Linked DNA regions of Homo sapiens: regions 1 and 3 are each linked to region 2. The links are contacts of gene promoters, found by promoter capture Hi-C in blood cells and fetal thymus (Javierre and others, 2016). All regions are on one chromosome and are shown on one strand. The core of a region is centred on a gene start or on the middle of the fragment in contact, and the rest is flanking DNA. Distances in the headings are between cores, read along the strand shown.

Region 1 (4,325 bases), core at 855-3,354, 960 kb before region 2:
ATGGTGGTTCTCTGTGTAGTTGCATTTCACCATTTCATTATATTTTTCAGTGTAGTTGTGTCCAAAAGTTCACATATTGAAAGTCACATTATTTTATGTTTAAGGCATTTTTTTATTTCTGATTTTTATGACAGTTAAGACTTTATTAATTTTAAGATAATATCTGTGTAGTCAGGATATATTTTCAATAAATTTTATTTCAAAATAGTAAGGGGACCATGTAAATTATTAGTTTGGGAATTAATAGTCTGTAAATTATCCATTGGGATAGATGAAACTAAAAGCACCTTACATAATTCTGTGCTGTGTACTAGCTTTGTGTAGTAGACATCTGCATATTATGTAACAGAAGTACTGCAGCATATCTTATACAGACATATCAAAATTAATCTCCTTTTGTAAGTTTTACAAACTTGTTCCTGGTCCTGTTTTCAATTCCTCTTTATTAGGCTACACCTGTGAAAACCTATTTTTATCTCCCCACCAAACTTAATTATTGATAATAGCCTGAAACAAAAAGAAAAAAAAGGAACTGTATTTTACAATAAAATCATGGTTCGATATTCTCTTGATCTATATACTAAAAAATAAAACACCCAATTAAATGTGAGAAGACAAAGTGAATCAATAGACCTATATTAACATTTTAATGAAATTTTGTTTTCTCACCTTAGTTCTGCTTATATATCAATTGATACACAAGCCTCATGGTTGATAATAATGTTGGAGTATTAAATATTACTTGCAGCACTTACCTTTTCCCAAAACTTCATGTACTTTTTTCATAAGCTAAGGATAAATTCCCTACAGACTCTGTGAAAGACAGTCAAGTGACCTCAGTGTGTGTGTCTTTTAGATGTGTCCCTGGATAAAGTCAGGTGCTTAACTGCTAGAGAATTTCCTGGAGGCAAAGTATAAATACAGAAACTTAGAAACCTAGGCAGTCACTAGATTCATCCCTGCCAGTGCAGGAAATTCCACCTCCCTCATTTAATTCTTCCCATCTTTGATGTCTTAATTTTTTTCTCTGACATAGTTGGCCAGTATGGGTGCATACTGATGATAAAAGGCTGTGCAGCACACAAGGACATTCATTCAAATTGGAAATGACATTGGGATAATGTTAAAAAAAAGTCTTAGGACAATTTTATAACCAAATGTCTAATTGTAAGTGAAGGGGTTTAAGTAGAAAGAGGAAGAATGAAGTGAGATTTAGTGATGCAATACAGAACCCAAGAGAAACCGAGAAGGGTTTGTAATGCAAAGCTACATGATGTAAACTTTATGAGAACTTTAATGCAGTTGTAAGAAAATGCCCTTGAGCCAAGTAGTTTAATTATAGCAATATTTTTGAGGTTCACGTTATAAAAAGGAAAGTCAAAAGATAAATATTTATTTAGAGTTGTTAGGCAATAGTATGAGCTAATGTATTTCAAAATTCCATCAAGACTATGCAGTGTGACCACCATGGCACAGGTTTACCTATGTACCAAACCTTCTCATCCTGCACATGTACCTCAGAACTTAAAAAATGTTGAAAAGAAAATTCCACAAAGAAAATTTCCACAAAAGATAGTGTTCTGTTAATTGCACAATTGTAGGTCTAGTGTAAGATTTCAGTTGTTTTAAGAAAATTCTGTTTTTTTTACAAACTGAAACCAAGGGGATTTTTTTTTTTTTTTTTGAGGGAGTCTCGCTCTGTCGCCCAGGCTGGAGAGTAGTGGCGCGATCTCGGCTCACTGCAAGCTCTGTCTGCCGGGTTCACGCCATTCTCCTTCCTCAACCTCCTGAGTAGCTGGGACTACAGGTGCCCGCCACCACGCCCGGCTAATTTTTTGTATTTTTAGTAGAGATGGGGTTTCACTGTGTTAGCCAGGATGGTCTTGATCTCCTCATCTCGTGATCTACCCGTCTCGGCCTCCCGAAGTGCTAGGATTACAGGCGTGAGCCACGGCGCTCGGTCGGGGATTCTTAACTCACAAATGTTTACACTGAAGCTTTATTATTACTATTACTGATGTGAAATAGAAGACTTCCTGTTTCTAAATGCACACTACCAGGAACAGATTAGAAAAAAAATATTGATTATTGCTCGTAAGTCTACTAACCTGCCATTTGTTTGGATGCACATGTCATCTCTAACAATATTGTTAGTTACATGAATGGAGATGTAGGAAGAATAACATTCCAATGGGTGGTTAATAAAGCTTAAAAATACCAATACGCATTAAAAATTATTTTGAATACTGAGTAAATGCCAACATGATAAGATAGGGTTTTGATTAAAAAATCATTTTTAACTTGTATTTTAAGTTCAGGGGTATATATGAAGTTTTGTTACATAGGTAAACTTACGTCATGGGGGTTAGTTGTATAGATTATTTCATCAACTAGGTATTAAACCTGGTACCCATTAGTTATTTTTCCACATCCTCTCACTCCTCCCACCCTCCAATCTCTGAAAGGCCCCAGTGTGTGTTGTTTTCCCCACACATCCATGTGTTCTCATCACTTAGCTCCCACTTATAAGTGAGAACATTCAGGATTTGGTTTTCTGTTCCTGCATTAGTTTGCTAAGGATAGTGGCCTCCAGCTTCATCCATGTCCCTGTAAAGGACATGATCTCATTTTTTATGGCTGCATAATATTCCATGGTGTATATGTGCCACATTTTCTTTACTCAGTCTATCTTTGATGGGCATTTAGGTTGATTCTGCTACTGTGAATAGGGCTGCAATGAACATATGCATGTATGTGACTTTATGATAGAATGATTTGCATGTTTGGGGGTATATAACCAGTAATGGGACTCCTGGGTTGGATCGTATTTCTGTCTTTAGGTCTTCGAGGAATCACCACACTGTCTTCCACAATGGTTGAAATAATTTACACTCCCACCAACAGTGTATAAGAGTTCCTTTTCCTCCATAACCTCATCAGCATCTGTTAATTTTTGCCTCTTTAAAAATAGCTATTCTGACTGGTGTGAGATGGTATCTCATTGTGGTTTTGATTTGCAATGTTTTTGATTTGAATGTTTTTTCATAAAAATCATTATTCATTCCTTCATTTAGTACAAATTTGATAAATGGTCACTATAAATTATAGAAACTTCTTAGTGTTTTTGTCGGTTTCTCTTTGTAGATTAGAAATTGCCTAATCTCTTTCATGGGTCTCTTCTCTTTCTAATGAAAACTTTCATTTGCCTCTCTCTCTAATTTTTAAAGCTTAATATTCCATCAAATGTCTAATGAATCCCAAATTTATATTTCCAAACTATGCTTCTTTGCCCAAACTTCTACTCAACTCCTTCAATTGTGAGGCTTTAAGCAAGCCTCAAACTCAGCATTTCCAAAACTGAATTGAACAGTTTCCTCCTAGAAACTTGGTCCTAGTCCAGGTTTCTCTACAGCATAGAAAAGAATCCCAATTCCTCCAGTTGAGCAAGACAAATCTGAGTCATGCTTTAATCTTTCTTCTACCTTATCCTTACCTCCCATTTCCAATCTAACATTGAGGGCTTTACTTTATCTTTACCTTTGCTTTACCTCAATATATTTCTCAGTTCTGTATACACACCTACAATCAATAACCTCTGCTTACCATATTCTTGAGAAGAATTTGGAGGCATGCTAAAATTCTCCCTTTTCTTCCATTATTTCTCTCTACAGTCCAGTCTCCACACTGTAATCAGAGTGCAAAAAGAAAATGTTCTTCTCTCCTTATTTTCAGCTAGCTTTAATGTAATATAATTGACATAGAACAAACTGTACATATTTCAAGTGTAAAATTTGATACATTTTGACCTATGTATAACCCTTAAAACCAATAAAACAATCATGATAATGAATGTAACTATTAGCCTCAAAATTTCTCTTGTGTACATTTTTTTCTTTCTGCTTCTCCTCTTCATCCACTCCTCCAGCTCCAGGCAACCACCAATCTTCTTTCTGTCACACGAATTTGTTTGGACATCCAGGAGTTTTATATAAATGGTATGCAGTGCGTGCATTTTTCTGTCTGACTTTCTCAGCCTAATTAGTCTAAGGTTTATCTATGCTGTTGTGTGTAACAATATTTTATTCCTTTGTATTCAGAGCATTTCATTTTTCCTTTTAAATAACAGTATTTTTAATTGAAATATCAAAAAAAAATTATGAATTTGAGAAATTCCTGTCCTAATATGAGACAAACGAAATATTCTGCATTTATTAGGGAAATATTAAAACCTTAGAAAAGAAAAATTCAAAAATGAAATAAATATAAATCTGTCAAAACACATACATTTGATGTTTGTAATAGTTTTCTAGGGCTGCTGTAGCAAA
Region 2 (4,163 bases), core at 1,513-4,012:
AAACTCAGTATTTACAATAATAGTAAAAGTGTGGAAGGTAGAAAATGGGTTTGTAATTTATGTCTCCTGTATTTCAAACTCAGATTTATATTGTTATCTTTCCATTGTCTCTTAAGACTTCTAGTATTTAACAAAGCCCACCAAGAATGTTTATTCCACTCTGGCTCCTTAAAAGCAATCTGGACACACACATCTTGGCCAGGCGCGGTGGCTCACGCCTGTAATCCCAACACTTTGGGAGGCTGAGGTGGGCAAATCACTTGAGGCCAGGAGTTCAATACCAGCCTGGCCAACATGGCGAAACCCCGTCTCTACTAAAAAACACAAAAATTAGCCAAGCATGGTGGTGCACACCTGTAGCCCCAGCTACTCAGGAGGTTGAGGCACAAGAATTGCTTGAACTTGGGAGATGGAGGTTGCAGTGAGCCGAGATCGCACCACTGCACTCCAACCTGGGTGACAGAGTGAGACTCTATGTCCAAAAAAAAAAGGAATCTTGCAACATCTACACTAGCCTATTCTAGGAGAGTGAAAACCAGACACACGGCCAAGTCCAAGAAGTGGATCTAGGGTGAGTCCAAACCCCTCCAGTCGACCCCTCTCCTCACCCTGCGTGACTGTTCTCTAACATACCATTGGCTCCACCTCCTAGTGCCCTGATCCTCCTGAAGCTCCCCCTGTCCAGGGACTCTTTTTCAACCTGTTTTTCTGGCTCCATCTCAGCAAACCCACTGGAATATGATTGTGGACTTTCCTTCCAACTCCATGTGTATCAGGTGGGAAATTCTCCTGATTTCCTCACCCTGGTTGCAATCCTCCTGCAATCCTCCCTGCTTAAGATTGGGAATGGACTGATAGGCCTCTCTGTTTTGTGTTGTCTGGAGAGATTTGTCAGGTTATTGATGTTACTTTTTTAATTCATTCCTTGAAAGTGATGGAGCTATGCTAAATACAATTGATCAAGTTGCTTATTTTTCTGCCTTTTCTGTTAATTGAAAGTACTTAAGTTTAATAAAAATGCAATGTGGATTTTACAGAGATAAGACAGTTTCTGTTCCAGCAGAATGTTTGCCCATTTTATTCTCTGCTCTATTCCCAGCAACTTAAAACAGTGGCAAAGAGTGGGCGCTCAATATATATTTATGTTGAAAAGAGATGGGGACTCATTTATAAGAAACAGAATTTAAACTAGTAAAACACTAACAACAATAAAGACAAAGACCCAGGGAATCACTTTACAGCAGAATTTGGTTGAATCACATGAGTTCCTTTTGCCTCAAGTACTGACCATAGAGGGATATCAAGTATTTTCTAATGAGTTTTGCTACTTTCAGGAGGTTAAATGAAATTCTTAGCCAGTAATAAATAGATGAGAGAGGGAGAAAAAGAGAGAAAGGGAGGAAGGGAAGAAGGGTGGAAGAGAAAGATAGAAACAAAGAGAAAAGAGAGAGAGAGCAAGTTTGACCCAACATCTGAAAAAATTAAAGGCAAACAAACCTAAAGACATAACCCACCTTCACACTGGTCACCCAAAGTTAAAACAACAATTTTAAATTTAAGAAAAGTATGGTTTCTTTTCTTAAATTTAAATAGGTGGTTAAATTAAATCCTAACTGTCTAGATTAGTGCTATCCAGTATAAATGTAATGTAAGCCAGAAATGCGAGCCACATATGGATTCTAAAATTTTCTGGTAGCCACATTAAACAAAGTAAAAATTTACAAAGTAAAAATTTAATTTATAAATTTAAAATTTACAGTAAATTAATTTTAATAATATATTTTATTTAGCTTAACATACCTAAAATGTTGTATGTTCAACATGTATTTAATTTTTAAAAATTATTAATGAGATATTTTATACCACTTTTTGTTGTACTGAGCCTTCAGTATCTGGTGAGTATTTACACTACAGCAACTTTCAATTTGGAAAAGCCACATGTGGCTACTGAATGAATGAGATCATGCAGTCTAGAAGCAGGTGCACCCTTTCGTCAATTATGCACAAAAATCTTTTGACCCCGGACTTTCTTCCATTTATCACCAACACATTTTTCAACTGTCACCAAAATGGCTTAGCTATTTTGATGCGACTTTACTTTTAGGTGAAGTAAACTCAGTGTTTCTGCCATTACTATAGTACTATAGCACAATAGCACAATTGAGTTTTGCACAGTTGTGAGAACAGGAGACTGACCTAGATTATTTTTAAGGCCCATTCTCAACCTAAAACTTATGATTATGTCAAAAACATTATTTAAAAAGCACTCTGTTTAAATAAAATATCATTATCATTAATTTTGGTATTCAGAAAGTAAATCTACTCCCAAAGTAACCAAAATGAAATGGATAAATAATTTTGCTGTAAGAGTTCTTGGATTATCAATGGAATTTTATTCCTAATAATAATGATAATAAAGAGTCATTTCTAGGAAACATTTATTGAATGCCATAATGCCATTCCATCTTCTGCCTTTCCCCACTCTTCGCCTCCACTAAACTATCCACTTAAGTATCAGAATCCTTTCACAAAATTAACATATCAGCCCATGAATTTTCTAAATGCAGCCTTTGCACAGAAGAATTAAGGAAGCTTACCAATTATTGTTAGGTAAAAGCCAGCCACTAAATCCGCTTCCCAAGAAAGTTTGGAAGCAAAAGGATCCCCATCTCGAAGGTAATGGGGCAGGCGCTCGTCCTGAGGCAGGGCAGTGTGATTTAACGCCATTCTGTTCTCGAACCACGAGGGATCTGAAAAGCAAACCAGTAGAGATCTCAGCAGACCTGAATAAGCCAGCTTGAACCATTTCATAATCGTGGCTCCTGTTTTAAAACAAAAAGCAAGTTCCCAGGGTCATGCATGATTCTCTAATTAATAACTGGTAAAAATTTTAACATTTTTTTCAATGATCCAATTATGTCATTACTCAGTTATTCGGTTGGCAGATTATCCAAGCCTTCATTTTCTCCTCTGTTTTCTCATGCTACTCTTTGAGCCACTTCTTTTCTCCTTGGGGTGATTAAAAGGTTGAAGGCCAAACTGTGCAATTTACTGTTTCTTAGCAATTTTTGTAAAGGTCTGAGCAGGAAATGATATTGTATGGAGTGTGCACACATACACACACACACACTATATATATATAATTTATGTATATAAATTATATATAATATATAAAAAATTTACATATGTATATATATAACTTGTCAGAATATAGTATTTTTTGATTATCCAGATTTCCCAGAAAATCATTTCCATTGTACATTCAATGAGGTTTAGAGTTTTGTAAGGAAAGAAATAGAGCATTCAGTACAAAGGAACATGGACACTTAATTAATTGAAGCTAAGAGCTAGGTGATTGTCAAAGTGATCTTGAAATTTGGAGCTATTTAGAAAGGATTCAAGCTGGGTTGTAACTCACAGGCACATCCACAGGAAGGTTTGTTTCTCAAGTTTCCTAGAGCAGAAAGCAATTTCATTATTTCTCACCACTGCCCCAAATCCATACTTTCTATTTGCTCATTTATGCTTCTGGATGAAATCTTGAGCATTGAGGAATTTCTCAGATACACAGGTCTTAGTACTGTTTCTTTTGAATTGGAGTTTTAAAAGGTTTACACAAAGTCTTTGATGGGCTTTCTGCAAAAATAAAAGTCACATGATATCCCTCATCCTGAAACTTGGAGTCGTGTGTTGTTCTTCAGATAAAGTATGCTGCTGATGTTAAAACTTCCTTTGGAAGGGTCATTCCTTTGTCATGATTGTTCCTATTTGTTTTGAAAGGGGAAGAAATACTAGTGTGGCTGTTTCTCTTTTGAACTTGCCTATTTCAAATCGAACCAACAGATGTCACTGTTCAGCTCTCTAGGCAACAATTTCGGGCATTATATGAGACAGCAAGTGGAACACAGAGTTGTGTGCCCCACAGGCGGTGACAGGGTGATCGGCACATATCTAACCATGTAATTCACCTTCGCAAAAGACATGAATTTAACCCCTTTCTAACTGCCAACTTACAGCTTACAGAGGAAGGCTAGTGACCCTTTCAGTGGCCAGTTGGCTGAAACTACAGTCTCCTACACACAGTTTGAGGACAGTCATGTGCTAATGTTCATTCCAAATCCTTCTCCCTGAGATGGTTAGAAAGCTGTAGGAGAAATCTTTGG
Region 3 (4,670 bases), core at 1,625-4,124, 680 kb after region 2:
GAAAGTGGAAAACAAAGAGAAGGGACAAGTTCCTGCAGGCAATTAGAGATAGTTGGGGATAGGAGGGGATCGGAAGGATCTGCCTGACTATGGGTTTTATTTTCCAGGAGAACACTCAATTTGAAAACGTGCAGCAACCTCTGGGTTACTAGTGGCACCATAAGTACTCAAAATGTTTATAATAGTACAGACCAGGGGAAAGATACAATTGGGGTTTCGGCTAGAAAGTTTGACTGACAGCTACAATAGCTCCCTGGCTTTTAGCATGAGCCACCCTTTCTACTGCCATGTACACCAGGCTTTGAAGGACAGATGGGGGAAAATTCCAGGAAAGCTACTAGTTTGAAATTATGCCCATTATCAGCTTCAGTGATGAATTCAACTTTCTCTATTGTTTGGATCTCAATCAAATATTGAGCTTAGGTTATACCCTCCTTGAAGTCATAAATTTGAACTAATCCAAACCTTAAAGTCCTGTAAATGTTCTTAATAAATTATTCATCCAGCTTTCACTTAACAAATATTCTCTGAGTAGCAACTATGTGCCAGGCAGTGTTGTAGGCCTGAAAAAAGCAACTCAAAATGCCTACTCTTCTGGAGGTGACCTTCACAAGGACATCTATAGTGTTTGTATATGCTGTATTTTTTTGTCTGTAACCATAATGAGATCATGAAATGTGAAATGTGAACCAAGAACAAAAGGCACTGATGGAGAAGGAGGACCCACTAGGGGCCTCAGCAGGGAATGCTTCCCAGATCTGGCCGTGCATGAGAAATAGCAGGGGAGGCATAAGAAGTAGATTTTGGGGCCTCACCCAAGACCCATGAAATCAGTACTCTAGCCGTGAGATCCAGAAATCTGCATTTTTCAAAAGCTCCCTAAGTGGTCGTGATGTGGCCATTTCAGAACTGGTTCCCAGATCTGTGTTTAGAAATCACTGAGCTAAATGTTCTCTTGATGCCTGTGTCAGTCAGGGTTCCAGCAGGACAAAAAAGGTACTTCCTGTTGGATAATTTGAGGAGAGTTCGCAAAGGGATGATTTACAAATGGGTGGTTGGACTGTTGAGAAACCTCATAGAAGGGTGCAGAACCCTGAGGCTGGTAACCCACCGCAACAATTAGCATCCCTAAATGTGAAGACAGGAGGCAAATGGGGTTCCCAGAACCAGGAGACAGACGACTGAGGGTAGAAGGCCTCTTGACAGGACCTCTGCTCTTCAGTTGAGAGACACAGCCAGCTGATTTAAGCCAAATCCAACCAGAATCCAGAAGGCAAGAATGCCTATTCTTGGAGACCACATAGGCCAGCCTACCAGGCACAGAGAACAAAGGAAGATGGAGGGTGAATCTGGAGGAGCAAATGAAGACATTCAGCCCAAGGTCCTTTTCTGCCATGGGAACATATGAAAATAAAATGGGACTGGAAATAGGTCTAAATATGTATTACTAATATTTCATAACAAAATTGTTTTCCTGAACTGTGTAACTCTTTTTTTTTTTTTTTTTGAGATGGAATTTCTCTCTTGTTGTCCAGGCTGGAGTGCAATGGTGTGATCTCAGCTCACCGCAACCTCTGCCTCCTGGGTTCAAGCGATTCTCCTGCCTCAGCCTCCCAAGTAGCTGAGATTACAGGCATGCACCACCACGCTTGGCTAATTTTGTATTTTTAGTAGAGACGGGATTTCTCCACGTTGGTCAGGCTGGTCTCGAACTCCTGACCTCAGGTGATCCGCCCACCTCAGCCTCCCAAAGTGCTGGGATTACAGGCATGAGCCACTGTGCGCAGCTGCTCTGAGCTAAGGCTCCTTATTGTCTCTACTTGGTACCCCCAGGGACAACAAAATGCCAGGTTTTGTTTTTGCTTTTGTTTTTTGATAGTAGTTAATATTTCTTGAGTACTCATTATATTCCATACATTGTGATAATTTTATTTGAATTTGTAGAACAACATTTCAAAGTAGGTGTTATTATTTTAAAGAAAAGCAAATTAATGTAAAGAAAGATTGAGAAATTTACCTTGGGTCACACAGCATGTAAGCAATAAAGCCATGATTTGAAGCTAGATCTGTCTTCTCTCAATGCCTATGCTATTAGCCTTTTTGCTCTCTTGTTAAGCCTACCAAGGAAAACGTAAATTCCACTCACTCTTGGAAACTTGGGAGCCTATGTTCCAGGCAATTTTGTCAAGAACAAAAAAACACAATTTCTTGTACTCTTGTAGTTTCGTATTCATTCATGACTTACCAATGTATTTGTTAAATATTACATATCTTCCCATTCATACTCAGAAAGCAACGTGGGCCTTGTAGATCGAGTGTTTATGATTTTAGACATTCTTGATTCAGGCCTTAGCACTAGGATGGTACATTTTCTCTGTGCTCTGCTGGTGCTTCTATGCCCAGAACAGAGCTAGGATGACCAACTGTTCTATTTGTTCTGGACTGAGCAATTTCCCAGGACATGAACATTTCAGTGCTAGAACTGGGACAGTTCCAGGCAAACTGGGATGATTGATAAATGCCAGGTTTTAAAAATACCTCCGATTTAGTACGGCAGCCTCAGAAATTCTAAAGCCACATTGAAAAAAAGATTAAACTATTTTTTCTTCACATTATTCTATGATTCAGGTTCTGGTTACATCTATCCCTGTGTTATCCTAAGCTTAATTTCTAGCCCTTGCTTACTACAAATAAGTTGCGGCACAGAAGTTGCATGATAAGACAGGCAGGGAATTGCAACACCACAAGTCATCTTGGCATCCAAATACGGCAAGTGATGAAGGATGTAAGCCGTCTTCAACATAGCCCAGATCCCCATCTCTTACAATTTTAGTCCTAGACATCTGACACTTGGCTCAAAATGCACCGTGCTTATTTCACTATGTTGTAATTGCTTGTTTATTCCTTGTCTCCCTTGTTAGACAGAAAGATAATTGAGGGCAAGGATCTAGCAATCTCAAGATTTAGAACTGGACCTGCTCCATGAGATTAGCTCAGTGACTCATTGGGGAGCATCTCGGGATACGAAGAGGGCACATTTACTTGAGATTTGTTTCTGAACTTTCTTGATTCATTATGAAGCTTGGCTCTTTGTATCATCCTTGAAATACATTAGGCACTTGAAGTAGGCATGGGGTTGGGGGATCTCACATTATAGGAGAGTTTCCTGCTAAGTTTAGTTTCCACACTCATCCCCCATAGACTGATCTGGCCTGGAGACTCTACCCACTCCCCGCAATTCTGTAGGAATCAGAGTTACAAGAGTGAAGAGAGCCCTAGGGCTTCTTGGTTAGCTAACTTTCTGACTCTGAAGTGGCCTTTACTCTTCCTTGTTGTTTGAGGGAATGCCAGACAAATGAAAAAAATTTATTTTTTAGGGGGGCAAATATTGAATTCAAGAAAGTGGTGAAACTTCTTTAGAAAGTTTCGCCTAGAAATCATGCCATCCTGTATAGTATCATTAAAGATAGAGAGAAGGATGGCAAAAAAAAGAACTAGCTTTACAAAGCACTTATTTTGTGCTAGGTACAATGCTACCTTTTTACATACCCAAATGAAATGATGACATGCCACAATATTACAAGATTAATTATAATTTCCATTTACAGGTAAGCTTGCAGTGTGGTTGTATAACTTGCCCAAGGTCATAAGAAACAGAGGTGGGATGTCAAATCAGGTTTTTAGTCTGTAAACTCATGTCCGTGTTTGGTAACATGTAGCATCACCTCCCGATGACCTTGAAAATCTCTGGACTGGCTCCTGGGTCCCAGATTTCTCTCAGCTTTCTGATGTTACTCAGATACTGAACGTAACCAGGAAATATTGGGTTAGTTTCCAGAGAAAGTCTATTAGAGGCATAGTGCTAATGATAGGATGGTGGGGAAAACATCTCTAAAGGGAAGGAATGAACAGCATGAGCCATGGTTTGGGAGCTTCCTTATAATATATGGGGGAAAAGACTCCATTTATAAATGCTCATAAGGTCTCTGGTTAAATTCCATCATATAAATTATTCGCAGAGAACTGCTCAGGATTTCCCCTCCCTGCAGGGTGAACAGCTGGCCTTCTGCAATGCCAGGCCTAGGTCTTCCGGTTCTTTGAGGATCAGTGCCCTCTGCAGGTTGAAGTCAGAGAAGCCAAAAGCATGAGAATAAAAGGACAAAGAGTTTTCTGCTCCTGTTCCTTCTCATGTAAGTGCTTGCCTCAAAGTACATTAAAGACAAAGTCTAGGGGACTTTGGAGGAAATATTTTTCCTTATGTGACCTTGAGTGTGAAATGTCATGGAACCACTGGGCAAGTGATGAAGAAACCAGTTGGTTCCTCGAATTCATCCTCATGATGCTGATTTGTTCCCCGCCGTCCTTCCTGCATGTTCCATCCTGTTTAACTGTCTCAGTCCAACGGGGCCTCAGCAACAACCCTTCAACAGTGGGGAGAATTTCCCAATGGAAAGGCAGTACAAATACACACTGGAGGACTCAAATTGACTGTCTGTGTTTTCTTTATTAAGATAAAAGTTACAGGAGAGCTTAGAGAGCAGATGCAGAATGGCTCTGTGGCTCTGTTTCTGCCCTGCAGCCCCAAGTCAGTGGCGGCAGGGGCTGGGAGAAAATGGCCTAACATTTTTTTACCACCTACTTTGTGCTGGGTTCAACTTTAACTTCACTAA

The links. The method cuts DNA at HindIII sites, captures the fragments that hold promoters and counts their contacts. A CHiCAGO score of 5 or more calls a contact.
Region 1: a contact is called between a fragment that was not itself captured here and the fragment with the promoter of OPN5 in region 2, in 2 of 17 cell types (M2 macrophages and M1 macrophages). The highest score is 7.0, in M2 macrophages.
Region 3: a contact is called between a fragment that was not itself captured here and the fragment with the promoter of OPN5 in region 2, in 1 of 17 cell types (total B cells). The highest score is 6.1, in total B cells.

The regions. Positions count from the first base shown.
Region 1 is chr6:48,744,251-48,748,575 of GRCh38, reverse strand. No RefSeq gene overlaps it. Among named protein-coding and RNA genes, the nearest start is that of PTCHD4, 640 kb to the right of the region's middle. The HindIII fragment of the contact is 210 bases long and covers 2,000-2,209 here.
Region 2 is chr6:47,780,631-47,784,793 of GRCh38, reverse strand. OPN5 (opsin 5) reads right to left here and starts at 2,762. Exons shown (of 7, transcript NM_181744.4): 1 at 2,598-2,762. The coding sequence starts at 2,727. The HindIII fragment of the contact is 3,260 bases long and covers 2,595-4,163 here.
Region 3 is chr6:47,096,977-47,101,646 of GRCh38, reverse strand. No RefSeq gene overlaps it. Among named protein-coding and RNA genes, the nearest start is that of ADGRF1, 57 kb to the right of the region's middle. The HindIII fragment of the contact is 419 bases long and covers 2,665-3,083 here.